Regions from separate parts of the Homo sapiens genome. Here region 1 is linked to region 2. Evidence: promoter capture Hi-C in human tissues and cell types (Jung and others, 2019). All regions are on one chromosome and are shown on one strand. Each heading gives the region's core, a stretch centred on a gene start or on the middle of the fragment in contact. The rest is flanking DNA. Distances are from core to core; before and after follow the strand shown. Region 1 has its middle 32 kb from the start of LINC01565. Region 2 holds the start of DNAJB8 (DnaJ heat shock protein family (Hsp40) member B8).

What was found. The method cuts DNA at HindIII sites, captures the fragments that hold promoters and counts their contacts. A contact is called where the count stands out against the background at its distance.
Region 1: a fragment that was not itself captured here is called in contact with the fragment with the promoter of DNAJB8 in region 2 in 2 of the 25 tissues and cell types used here (H1 embryonic stem cells and IMR-90 fibroblasts).

What each region holds. Positions count from the first base shown.
Region 1 is chr3:128,540,780-128,546,971 of GRCh38, forward strand. No RefSeq gene overlaps it. Among named protein-coding and RNA genes, the nearest start is that of LINC01565, 32 kb to the right of the region's middle. The HindIII fragment of the contact is 5,343 bases long and covers 1-4,631 here.
Region 2 is chr3:128,463,274-128,469,614 of GRCh38, forward strand. DNAJB8 (DnaJ heat shock protein family (Hsp40) member B8) reads right to left here and starts at 3,617. Exons shown (of 3, transcript NM_153330.6): 1 at 3,341-3,617; 2 at 2,003-2,163; 3 at 1-837. It overlaps DNAJB8-AS1 (DNAJB8 antisense RNA 1), which reads left to right and starts at 321. Exons shown (of 3, transcript NR_037890.1): 1 at 321-454; 2 at 627-840. The HindIII fragment of the contact is 25,608 bases long and covers 1-6,341 here.

The DNA of each region.
Region 1 (6,192 bases), core at 710-3,209, 76 kb after region 2:
GATGAGGTCTCGCTATGTTGCCCAGGCTGGTCTTGAACTCCTGGCCTCAAGTGATCCTCCCACCTCAGCATCCCAAAGCGCTGGGATTACAGGCATGAGGCATGCCACCATTACACACCCGGCCAGCCACCAAATTATTTTCCAAAGCAGCTACACCACCTTACATTCCCACCAGCAGTGTATGAGCATTCCCATCTCTCTACACCCTCGACAGTAATTTTGGTCTGTCTAATTTACTATAGCCATTCTAGTGGGTAAGAACTCACACACACTTCTGCTTCTTCTTGGCAATGCATCCATGTGGAGCCATGCTGGGGCTTTCCAGGACTGGCTGACTTTCACCTCCACTTGTAGAAAGAAGGGACATATCTGGCAATACTGTAGCCCCAGAGCTTGGTCCAGGGCCTAGAACTAAGGATGCACCCCTGAATGGCTCCTGGATGGATAATGGGCTGGGTGAGGGAGGTACATGGTGAGGGGGATACTGGTTTCAGTGCAATTGGAGCTCAGTGATATCTGAGAAGTCTGGGGGCTGGGAGGGGAGATGTGCATATCTAAGGACACCACCCACCGTATGATAGGGTATAGAAGAGGCAGGGTAACCTGTGTAGAAAATCAGCTCCCAGCCTCCTGCTCGGACCTTACCCTCAAGGAATGCAGAACCCCCTGTGTATCCCTTTCTCCTCCTGATATAGTTTAGATATTTATCCCCACCAAATCTTCATGTTGAATTGTAATCCCAGTGTTGCAGATGGGGCCTGGTGGGAGGAGTTTTGGTCATGGGGGTGGACCCCTCATGGCTTGGTGCTGTCCTCACTGTAGTAAGTTCTCACAAGATCTAATTGTTTAGGTGTGTGCCACCTACCCCCTCCCACTCTCTCTCTCTTTTGCTCCTGCTTTTGCTATATGAGGTACCTGATCCTGCTTCACCGTCCACCATGACTGTAAGCTTCTTGAGGCCTCCCCAGAAGCCAAGCAGATGCCAGCACCATGCTTGTACAGCCTGCAGAACCATGAACCAATTAAACCTCTTTTCTTTATAAATTACCCAGTCTCAGGTATTTCTTTATAACAATGCAAGAAAAGCTGAATATACCTCCCCACTGGAGCACTAGCCCCAGACCTGTCACAAGTCAGATGTCACATATGCTTATAGAGACAAGAAAGAGGACATGGAAGTCCCAGAGGGGCTGCAGGTAGTATCCTGGCAAGGGTTGAGCTCTGGAATTGGGATGTCTGGTTTGCCCCCCTCATCTTCTTGGGGCTAGGTGAGCTCCTTGGTATCCCTAGTTGGCATTCCCAATTGGAATCTGCAGACTCACATTGCCTGGATTTTTCCTGGGCTATTTCATGTGATCCAGACCCTGGGAGTGCTTCCTCTCTCAAGAAGCTCCTTTCATGCCCTGACACAAATTCCTCAGGTCTCAACCCAACACAGAAACCCACCTCAAAGCGACTTAAGCAAAACAGGTAATACATTGGCTCATGAGACTGAACAACCATGACCCACAAGGCTGGTGTGGGGGCTCAAAAGGTGGCTTCAGGAACCAGGCTGTGTCCATTTCTTTGTTCTTGTTTCCTCCATATGTCTTGACCCACCCCACAATGGCCACAGCATCTCCATCCTTACCTCTTCCTAGCTGAGCAATCCCAGCAGAGAAAGAGTAACTTTTCTCAGCACTTCTAAAAGGAATACCATGCCTGAGTCTCTTGGGCCTGGCTTGGGGGCAATGTCACAAGGTAATTCCTCAGGGATTCCAGCCTCCTCTTTATTCAAGGGATACCTGGTCTGTGAACTGGCTTTGGTCTGGGAACTGGATAAGGGACTGTGACTCCCTATTATGGCAATTCAATTCAGGGCTCTAGTCACCTGACCTAAAGAACCTTTTTTGTTGGTGTTTAGGCAGATCAAATTATATGACTTCTGCTTCTGGTCATGATGGTATAACAGGGAGTAGACTTACCCTCCCATCTTAAACAACTAAACAAAACAAAATATGCAAAACAATGGTTTTCAGATTTTACCAACAGTGCAGGATGATGATCTCTGAGGGAATGAAAACAAATGAGGTGAGCCCCATCGCTGTGCTGTCTCATCTCTGAAGGGAGTTTCAGGCTCCAGTGCTGGGAGGGAGGCTTAAACAGATTCTTGTGGTCTCCCTGATTTACAGAGACAGTGTTCAGAAGACAAGGTAGACAGAATTAACAAGGCAGAGTACCAGAAAGAGAGCTGAAGAGAGGGGGTAGGTGGTACTGAAATTCTGCACAGGGCTCTCCTTGGTTAGTCAGTGGAATACTGATCATTGCATGTATGTGAAGAAACTTGTGAGGCTAGGTAAAGAACCACGGAAAAGTAGCAGACAGAACAATCCCTAGGGTTGACACAGGGCCAGGAAGTGTTCATGTTCCCACTGGCCAGAATGGAACTCAACAATGGGGCCAAATTAGTCCTAGATTAAAGGCTATTCTGGGTCAATGCTTAAAAGCAAGTCACAAAAGAATCAAACTCTATCCCAGAACAAAGCACAAACAGACAAAAATCCAGCACCCAGGATCAAAACACTTATAAATCTGCTATTCAATCAAAAATCATCAGACATGCAAAGAAACAGGAAAATATAAGGAGAAAAATTAATCAATAGAAACAGATCAACAAATGACACAAATGATAGAATTATTAGATTATGGCATTAAGACAACTATTATAAAAATACTCAACATGTTCAAGAAGGGAGAAGAAAACATGAACATGATGAAAAGAGAAATTGAACATATAAAAAAGTCAAAAATTAAGCTTCTACAAATAAAAACTACAATGGATGGGATTAACAGCATATTAGACATTGCAGAAGAAAAATAAAGCAGGAAAAAAAGGAAAAACAAAGAACAGATGGCATAGAAAGAAACTAGCAATATGCTAGAATTAAATTCAGCCATATCAATCATCACAGTAAATGTAAATGTTCTAACATTCTAACTAAAAGGCACAGATTATCAGATCAAAAAAAAATTTTTTTTTTGAGATGGAGTTTTGCTCTTGTTGCCCAGGCTGGAGTGCAATGGTGCGATCTCGGCTCTCTGCAACCTCTGCCTCCCGGGTTCAAGAGATTCTCCTGCCTCAACCTCCTGAGTAGCTGAAATTACAGGCCTCCACCGTCATGCCTGGCTAATTTTTTTGTATTTTTAGTACAGATGGGGTTTCACCATGTTGGCCAGGCTGGTCTCAAACTCCTGACCTCAGGTGATCCACCTGCCTCGGCCCCCCAGAGTGCTGGGATTACAGACGTGAGCCACTGTGCACAACCAAATTTTTTTAAAATAAGACCTAACTATATGCTGTCTACAAGAAATCCATTTTAAATATAAAAGCTACAGATAGGTTAAAAATTTTTAAGTGGAGTGTAAATATATATATATTTCATTTGTATATATTATTATATATTATATATTTTATAATACATAAATATATAATATATTTCACTATATATTATTTCATATATATTCCATATATAATATGCATATTCATATATAATATGCATATTCATATTTGCCATATATAATATGCATATTCATATTTACCACATATAATATGCATAGTCATATTTACCACATATAATATGCATAGTCATATGTAATATGCATATTCATATATAATATGCATGTTCATATTTACCATATATAATATGCATATTCATATTTACCATATATAATATGTATATTCATATTTACCATATATAATATGCATATTCATATATACCATATATAATATGCATATTCATATTTACCATATATAATATGTATATTCATATTTACCATATATAATATGCATATTCATATTTACCATATATAATATGCATATTCATATATAATATGCATGTTCATATATACCATATATAACATGCATATTCATATTTACCATATATAATATGCATATTCATATATACCACATATAATATGCATATTCATATATAATATGCATATTCATATATACCACATATAATATGCATGTTCATATTTACCATACATAATATGCATATTCATATATGCCATATATAATATGCATGTTCCATATATTATATATTCCATATTATATATATTCTATATTGTATATGTTTCATATATATAATATATATTCCATATTGTATATATTTCATATATATAATATATATATTCCATATATATAATACACACATACCATGAAGTTACTCTTTTTGAAAAGCTGGGATGCTATACTAATATCATATAAAATAGATTTCAGGACAAGAACTATTGCCAGGAATAAAGAGGGACATTCCATAATGATAAAGAGTTACTTAGTCAAGAAAACATAAAAATCCTAAATATTAATGCACCTAATAACATGACTTCAAAATATATGAAGCAAAAACTAAAAGGAAAAATAGACAAATCCACAGTTATGGCTGGAGATTTCGACACATCTTCTCAATAACTGACAGAACAAGCAGACAGAAAATCAATAAACTTATAGAACAGAGGTCTGAAAACAGATTAGCCTTGTTTTTGTAAATAAAGTTTTATTGGAAAACAACCACAAACACTTTTTTATATACTGTTGGTGACTGCCTTCATGCTATAATGGCAGAGTTCAGTAGTTGAGTTGCAACAGAGATGGTATGGCCTCCACTGACAAAAATATTTATAATCTTATAATGTGGCTCTTTAAAAAAAGTTTGCCAATCTTTTTTTTTTTTTTTTTTGAGACAGAGTCTCGCACTGTCACCCAGGTGTGAGTGCCGTGGCGCAATCTCGGCCCACTGCAACCTCTGCCTGCCAGGTTCAAGCGATTCTCCTGCCTCAGCCTCCTGAATAGCTGGGATTACAAGTATGCGCCACCATTTCCAGCTGATTTTTGTATTTTTAGTAGAAACAGGGTTTTACCATGTTGGTCAGGGTGGTCTCGAACTCCTGACCTCAGGTGATTCACCTGCCTTGGCCTCCCAAAATGCTGGGATTACAGGCATGAGCCACCACACCCAGCCTGCCAATCTCTGATATAGAAGACATGAACAACATCATCAAACAACTTAACCTAATTACTGTTTATAGAACACTCCATCCAACATCTGAATACATATCTTTCAAGTACACAGAAAGCGTTAGCCAAAACAGACTGTATTCTGCACCATAATGGAAGTGTCAATATATTTTAAAGGGTGAAAATCATACTAAATGTCTCTTCTGACAACAATAGAATTAAATTGGAAGTCAATCCCCAACTAAATAACACACTTCTAAATAATCCATGAGTTAGCCAGGCACCATGGCTCACACCTGTAATCCCAGCACTTTGGGAGGCCAAGGAGGGCAGATCATGAGGTCAGGAGATCGAGACCATCCTGGTTAACGCGGTGAAACCCCGTCTCTACTAAAAATACAAAAAATTAGCCGGACGTGGTGGCGGGCGCCTGTAGTCCCAGCTACTCAGGAGGCTGAGGCAGGAGAATGGTGTGAACCTGGGAGGCGGAGCTTGCAGTGAGCCGAGATTGCGCCACTGCACTCCAGCCTGGGCGACAGAGCGAGACTCCATCTCAAAAAAAAAAAAAATTAAATAAGTAAATAAATAAATAAATAAAAATAACCCATGAGTCGAAGAAAAAAAACTGCAAATGAAATTAGAAAACATTGGAACAAATGCAAAGGAAAACATGGCATAGCAAATTGTGAGGCATGCAGATCAGGTCAGACTTTCGTAGGCTGACATGTACTGAGTTCAAGGACATCATGATCAATTAGACACCACCGAAGATCTCTCTGGGCCAAGCCATCCTGATTATTGCTCCAACCCACCTTATCTCTGGCAGTATGGGGCTACCTCCCGTACTCTCCTGCTTCCTCGAATCAGTTAACTTCCCCAAAACTTAGTGGCTTAAACACTAACCTTTTGTTTTGCTCGCAGTTCTGTGGAGCAGCTGAACGGTTCTTGTGTTCTGGGTAACCTGGACTGATTCCTGCTGAGCTCTTTCATGTGCCTATAGACAGCTGGTGGCTGAACAAGCCAGGATAACCTCACTCGCATATCTGGCAATTGGCTGGCTGTTGGCCAGAGTGCAGTGGCACTGGACACACATGCCTCTCATCGTCCAGCAGTCCAGCCAGACTTCACTGGGGCTGGGCTCCAGGGGCAGAAGGAAAGGGAAGAGCAAGCAAGCCCCAATGCACAAGGTCTTTGAA
Region 2 (6,341 bases), core at 2,367-4,866:
AACGTGGAGGCCAGGTGGGCGCAGGGGCCCAGCTGGTCAGATGGACGGGGGAGAAGTGGCCGGTGGTCTGGGGCCCTTCAGCAGGGGCCTGGCTGGACTCCGCAAGCTCTAGGCAAGATTCTGCCCAGGAGTTCACCTTTTCGTAGTACCAATTCTCAGGGACTGGAGGGGCCCCCACTGAGAGGAGTGGGGGGAGGGGAGGGACACTGCCGCTGTGGGGCCAGGCCAGAGTGGGCTGCCCTCCAGAGCTCCTTTTATGACGTCAGCTCCCGGGGCGGGGCATACCCCCGCCCCCAGCTCCTCACCAGGCAAACCTGGGCATATGGGCCTGCCCCTGCTGGTGAGGTGGCCACAACGGTGTGTGGGAATGGGATGCTCTGTGACCCAGGTGGTGTGGGCTGAGTCCCGGGAGCCAAAGGGCAGAGGCAGGATCAGCCACGGGATTCCAGCCTTGGTGAGTGACAAAGGTCTGTGGCCGTGGTGGGGGAGGCGGGCAAGGGCGTCCTGGGTATGTCCACTCGGCCGATGGCTGGGCAGCAGCTGAGGCAAGAGGAGGCCAAGGTGGGGTTCAGGCAGGCTGGGGTGGGGACAAGAGCCTGCTTTTTTTGTGCCCATTATCTGGCCAGGTCTTCCGGGGTAAGCTCCACAAAGGCGGGAAAGTCTGTCCCTGTCTAGGACAGTGGCTGGCACACGAGGGCCGTCGGTAAACTCTTGGATGAACCAGGCTCAGAGACACACAGTGCTCAAGGTCACACAGCGAGTCAGTGAGGGAGGGGATGTGAAACCAGGGCCAAGGCTGCAGCGGACAGCAAATCCAAAGAAGTGTTCCACTCAATTCTGGTAAGAAAAATAGGAATTGATGATAAATATTGATTACTGACTGTAGTGGGTTGAATGGTGGCCCCCAAAAAGATATGTTCCTATCCTAATCCTTGGAACCTCTGAATGTGAGCTTATTTGGAAAAAGGATCTTTTCGGATGTAATTAAATTAAGGATGTCGAGATGAGATCATCCTGGATTATCTGAGTGGGCCCTAAATCCAGTGACACATGTCCGTATAGGAGATGGACACTGACGCAGCTGGAAGCTGGGGGCCAGGAGGGTTCTCCCTGCAGCCTCCAGAGGGAGTGCGGCCCCACTAACACCTCGATTTCAGACCTCTGGCCTCCAGAACTGGGGGAAGAGATTTCTTTTGTATTGAGCTACCCAGTTTGTAATAATTTGTAACAGCCCTAGAAAACGAATCAGGTGAGTGAGGTAACCAAATATTCTTAGGCATTTATATTCCTTTAATTCTTGTTCTGGTGTTGGATCATATATAGAAACAGCAATTCACAATACTGATTAATATCTGTTCCTACCTTCACCTCACCCCACTCCAATTAAGATCAAAACCATGCTAAACCACCTACTAACCACACCAATAAAGAGCCTAGATGTTTGGGTCACCAAGTCTTAACTAAAGATAGCCTTCCTGCCTGCCTTCTTTCCTTCCTCCCTTCCTCCCTCCCTCCTTCCCTCCTTCTTTCCCTTCCCTTCCCTTCCGTTCCCTGCCTTCCTTCCCTCCTCCCTCCCTCCCTTCCCCCTCCTTCCTTCATTTCCTCCTTCCTTCCTTCCTTCCTTCCTCCCTTTCTCCTTCCTTCCTTCTTTCTTTCCTTCCTCCCTCCCCTTCCCCCTTCTCCCTTCCCTCCCTTCTTCACTCCTGGCTTCTTTCCTTCCTCCTTCCTTCCTTCATTCCTCCCTTCTTCCTCCTCTTCCTTTTTCTAGTCTTCATCCCTTTCTATTATCCTCCCTCTCTCTCTTTTCTTTCAGTGCTCATGGGTGCTAGGTTTCAGGCTCCTAGCAGGGGACAGTGTGTGTTCTAACCAATCCCAAATGCCAGGAGGAATGGAGACAGACTGTAGAGACACTTTGTAAACCCAGCCTCCAGTGACCATCGCTGTCCCTCCATGCAGCTTATCAAAAGCACGACTCGCACCCCCATGCTGGGCATCCACCCACCTACACCTGCTGACACATGTGGCTTAGCAGAGGAGTTGAAGAGCAGAACTTCTCCACTGGATGTAGCTACAGATGAACCTGATTCTTTATCTCTGTGGCTGGATTTTTGTCACTATGTCTCGGTTAGCAGTTAGCACCTGCTGTCCCTTGCAGGCTTGTTCCTGGGGCGGGAGAAAGATGCTTGCCCTGCACAGTTCTCCATGATGGCGGTGGCAGTGGGAGAGGCACTGCTGTTGACTGTGTTGCTGGTGGGGAGAGGCACGGTGGGTGTCCATGGAGATGGATAAGGTGTCATTATATAGTAGAGGTGACCATGGGAGCAGTGTTGATGTGGAGGTAATGGTCATGGTGGGTGTGAGGGGGAGAGTAATTATGGGTGATGGTGGAGTTGATCATGATGATGGTGATGCTGGTGGTGACAGCAGCAAGGCTTGTGCTTGAGAGTAATTGATGATGGTAGTGGTGGTGGTGATGGTCATGCCAGAGGAGATGGTAACAGCGAGCCTTTGTTGTGGTTGGCAGTGATGGTGCAGGTATGATGAGGAGGTGATGGGAATGGCTCCTAGTGAGCCATTGGTGTGGTTGGCAGTGGTGACAGTAATGGTGATGATGAAGGTGAAGGTGGTGGAGGTAGCAGAGGTTGTATCTTGTTCGGCTATACCACAGTGACAGCTTCCACCTCTCAGTGGCTCACGACAAACATCTAGTTCCCCCCACTTCACTCACTGGTGCCTACAGGCAGCTGCCAGGGCCCCACCTCCCATAGCTTCTCACTGTGGGTCCCAGGCTGGAGAATCAGCTCTGACCTGCACACCCCTCTCTCATGACAGTGCCACTCAGAGACAGCAGGAACTTGGGCTGCCTCTGAAAGCTTCTGTTGGGCCATGATGTGTGGCAGTCTTGCTGCATCCCATGGTCAAGGCCAGTATCCATGGGGCAAAGAATGTTTCCTTCAGGAAGGTTCTGCAAATCTCAGGGCAATAGGAAGAGAGGCCTGAGATTCCCATGGGGAAGAGGGAGTGAGCAGTTCTCCAACATATGCCAGATGCTCAAGATGGGACTGACAGCGGGGCTGGTAACGATGGCTCTGCTGGGAGCAGTGTTGGTGCTGCTGGTGCCGGGGACACCCGTGGTGGTGATGGGATAGGAGGCAGGAATTGTGCTATTAATGGAGGATGGTGGTGAGGGTGGTTGTGGAAGAGGCAATGGTAGAGGGGGGTGCCGAGGGGTGAGAAGGACACAGTGGTGGACATGCTGGTGTGAGTGCCGATGGCGATGGTGATGGCACTGAGGTGTGGGGCTCTGTATTTTCTGTTGCTAACTTGGCATTACACCAACCTCTTCCATGGTCTCCTTGCATCCTGGAGAAATCTGAGGGATTTTCCAGAATCCCATCACCGGTATAATTCCAGACTAGAGCCTGCCAATACAAGGGATTTGGAGAGTGGAAAAGAGAGGCCGTTGCAGGCAGGTGACAATGGTGAGCTTTGCAACAGCTCGGGGCAATCTTCTGCGAAGACCCTGCTTCTGAGCCACAGGCTGAGGCATGGATGGGGAGCTTCCTGGAATACCGTGAGCTCCTCAGCAGCTCCCAGGCAAGCTCTAGAGAGCCGCTCACCTGGGAGCTGCAGGTGAGCATCTCGATTCCTTGTTCCCTGACCGCTGGTCCCAGACTGTTCAGGGTGCAGCGTGTAGTAAATGTCCTCCTCCTTGGTACACATTTGAGGGCTGTGTACTGTGAGGGTGATGGCGGCTCAGATGAAGGTGGTGGTTGTGATGGAGTTGGGTGTGAGGATAGCAGAGAGAAAGCAGATGGTGACATCAGGAAGGCATTGGAGGGGCAGTGGTGGTGGCAGTGATGATGGTGGCAGTCTAATTAGAGGCAGTGGTGGGTCTGGCTGAGGCAGACCCGGTGGTGGTGATGGTGGTGGTAGTAGAGGGGGCAATGACGGTGGTGATGGCAAAGGCGGTGTGAGTGGTTGATACTGGTGGCAGAGCTGATAAGGTGATGTCACAGATGGGATGGTGGGTGGAGATGGAGGTGGAGGAAGTGTGGTGACAGTGATGTGGTGGTGACACAATGCTGACACGGGTGGAGAGCACCGTGGTGACGGTGACAGAGATGATAGTGATAGTGGGGCTGGTGGCAGTGGTAGAGGAGATGGGGATGGGACGCTGGGGTGTTGATGGTGATGGTGACACTGCTGAGGGTGTTGGTGGCCTGACATTGTAAAGGTGAAGCCTGAAGTTTCCATGACGATGGAATCAGGACAGTGGAGGAGGGGTGGTGAAAACAATGTTAAGAGACAAAGGACCTAGTATGATGAGGCATCCAAGAATCCTGTGGCCGCCTCCCCGTCCTGGCCCTCCCTGCCTTGTTGGAGACCCTGGCTCTGGTCTGCGTTGTACTCCCAGGGGAAATTTCTTCCAGCCACTGCCCTGCTCCAACCCTTGTTCCTGGGATGGGTCTGTGGGAGTCAGCCAGGATGGAGACAGGGCTGGAGACCCCCTCACTGCCGCCCATTCAGGGCTGTCTTAGGGCACACAGAACAGACCACTCGGTAGGACTTACGGGAACAGGTGTGTCACCTGGGAGCAGGTCCCACACCTCACCATCAAGGGCATCCTGAGATGGAGGCCCCTGTGGGGAGCTCCCCATGAAGGGAGCTGTGGACCGTGGAGCCGGGCAGTGTGCAGAGGAGTTTCCCTTCTGCAAAGGGTTCAGGCTAGTCTCCTTCCACGCCAGTTTTTGGGGAGCCAGTGGGGAGCATCAGGGGCTCTGAGGCCTCCATAGGGCCTGCTGGAGGGACAGGGACACACAGGCATGAGCGCACACTTAGGCCCCACACGCTCCACCGTCAATTCTGTCAGGCCACCTCCCCTCTTCAAGCCTCTCTGTCCTCATTCACCAGTGGGTGCTTTTGGGGATTTGCCCTCTCTGGGGAGCCAGCCTAGGCTTCCTGGCCTCAGATGTCCCATGTCCCTCATCTCAGGCCCACCCTAAAGCCAACCCCGAGCCATGGCCAGGGAGAGAAGGACCTTCAGCGACCAAGCGAGGCCCAGAGAGGGCAGGGCACACCGAAGGTCACACAGCAGTACCAGGAAGGTCTCCCCCGGGCGAGCTGATGGAGCCGATTAAGCAGCCAATTGGTATTCGGAGCAGCCAGAGGCCCCTCTCTGTCTCTGTAATTAATGGAGTGGCTTTTTAAAAGGATTCTAATCACCCCCGATCCTATCTGCTTATCACTAGAGTTCCTAATTAGATGATCCTGGCAGTCACTCAGCTAATTCCCTCCAGCCCCCTGCAGGCCTGCCTGGCCTGGGCAGCCCACCCCACCCCCGGCCACCCTGGCCCGGCCAGATGGGCAGTTTGGGGCCTTCTCTCCCCTCAGGGCCCCTGGTCCTCTAACTGCATTAGCTCCAGGATGGATGGGCGACAGCGATGGATGGATGGACGGGCGGCTGGATGGACAGAGTGGCAGGCGAATGAAGGGGCTGAACGGTGGGCAGTCACAGAGTGGATGGGCGGATGGACAGACAGACGGGCCAAGGGGCAGATCCCACAGTGGGGAAGAGCTCAGCCTGTCAGGTGACACAGCCTGGGTTCCAACCCCAGCACTGCCACTCCCCAGCCATGTGTCCTTGGGGAAGTCAATAACCTGGCTGTGCCCCAGTGTCCTCATCTCATCTGTAAAAGGGAAGTAATGATGGTCCCCTCTCACAGGGTTACTGTGAGGAGCTCAGAATGGAGAAGGAGCTGTGTGTGCGTGTGCTGGCATCCTGGCAGTGTCGATAATGGGTGGGCAGAGACAGATGAAAGGGCAGCCTGCCTGGTGAGCCAGTGGAAGCCATGGTAGGCAGACAGGCCCATGGCAGGCTTACATGCAGATTGGTGGCCCATGGGGTGGGAAGGCGGTGGGCTACGCAACCGTAGAAGGGCCAGTGAGCTCACGTCCTCCCCAGTGGTGCCAGGGCGATCTCAGCTCTGCTCTCAGACCTCTTCAGGCAGCCTTCCTGCCCAGTCCTCCAAGCCAGTGATGACAGGTGCCCACTGGGTTGCCCAGATCCCTTCCCTGCCATCCCAACCCAGGTACATCCTTCCTGGTGGTGGCTCATGTGGTCTCTGGAGGCTCAGATCTAGCCCCAAGTAGGGGTTTACTGCCTGAGTGAAGGCATCATTTGCGGGGCCCTCTGAGTTCCAAGTTGCTTCAGCCAGTTAGGGCAGCTCCCCTCCTCCAGGGTCCCAGCACCCAGCCCCCCTGGCATACAGCAACCCTAGGCAGGGCTGTTACCCTGAGTTCCTCAGTTACTCGAAGCCTCCAGGAGGATCCAACCCCCA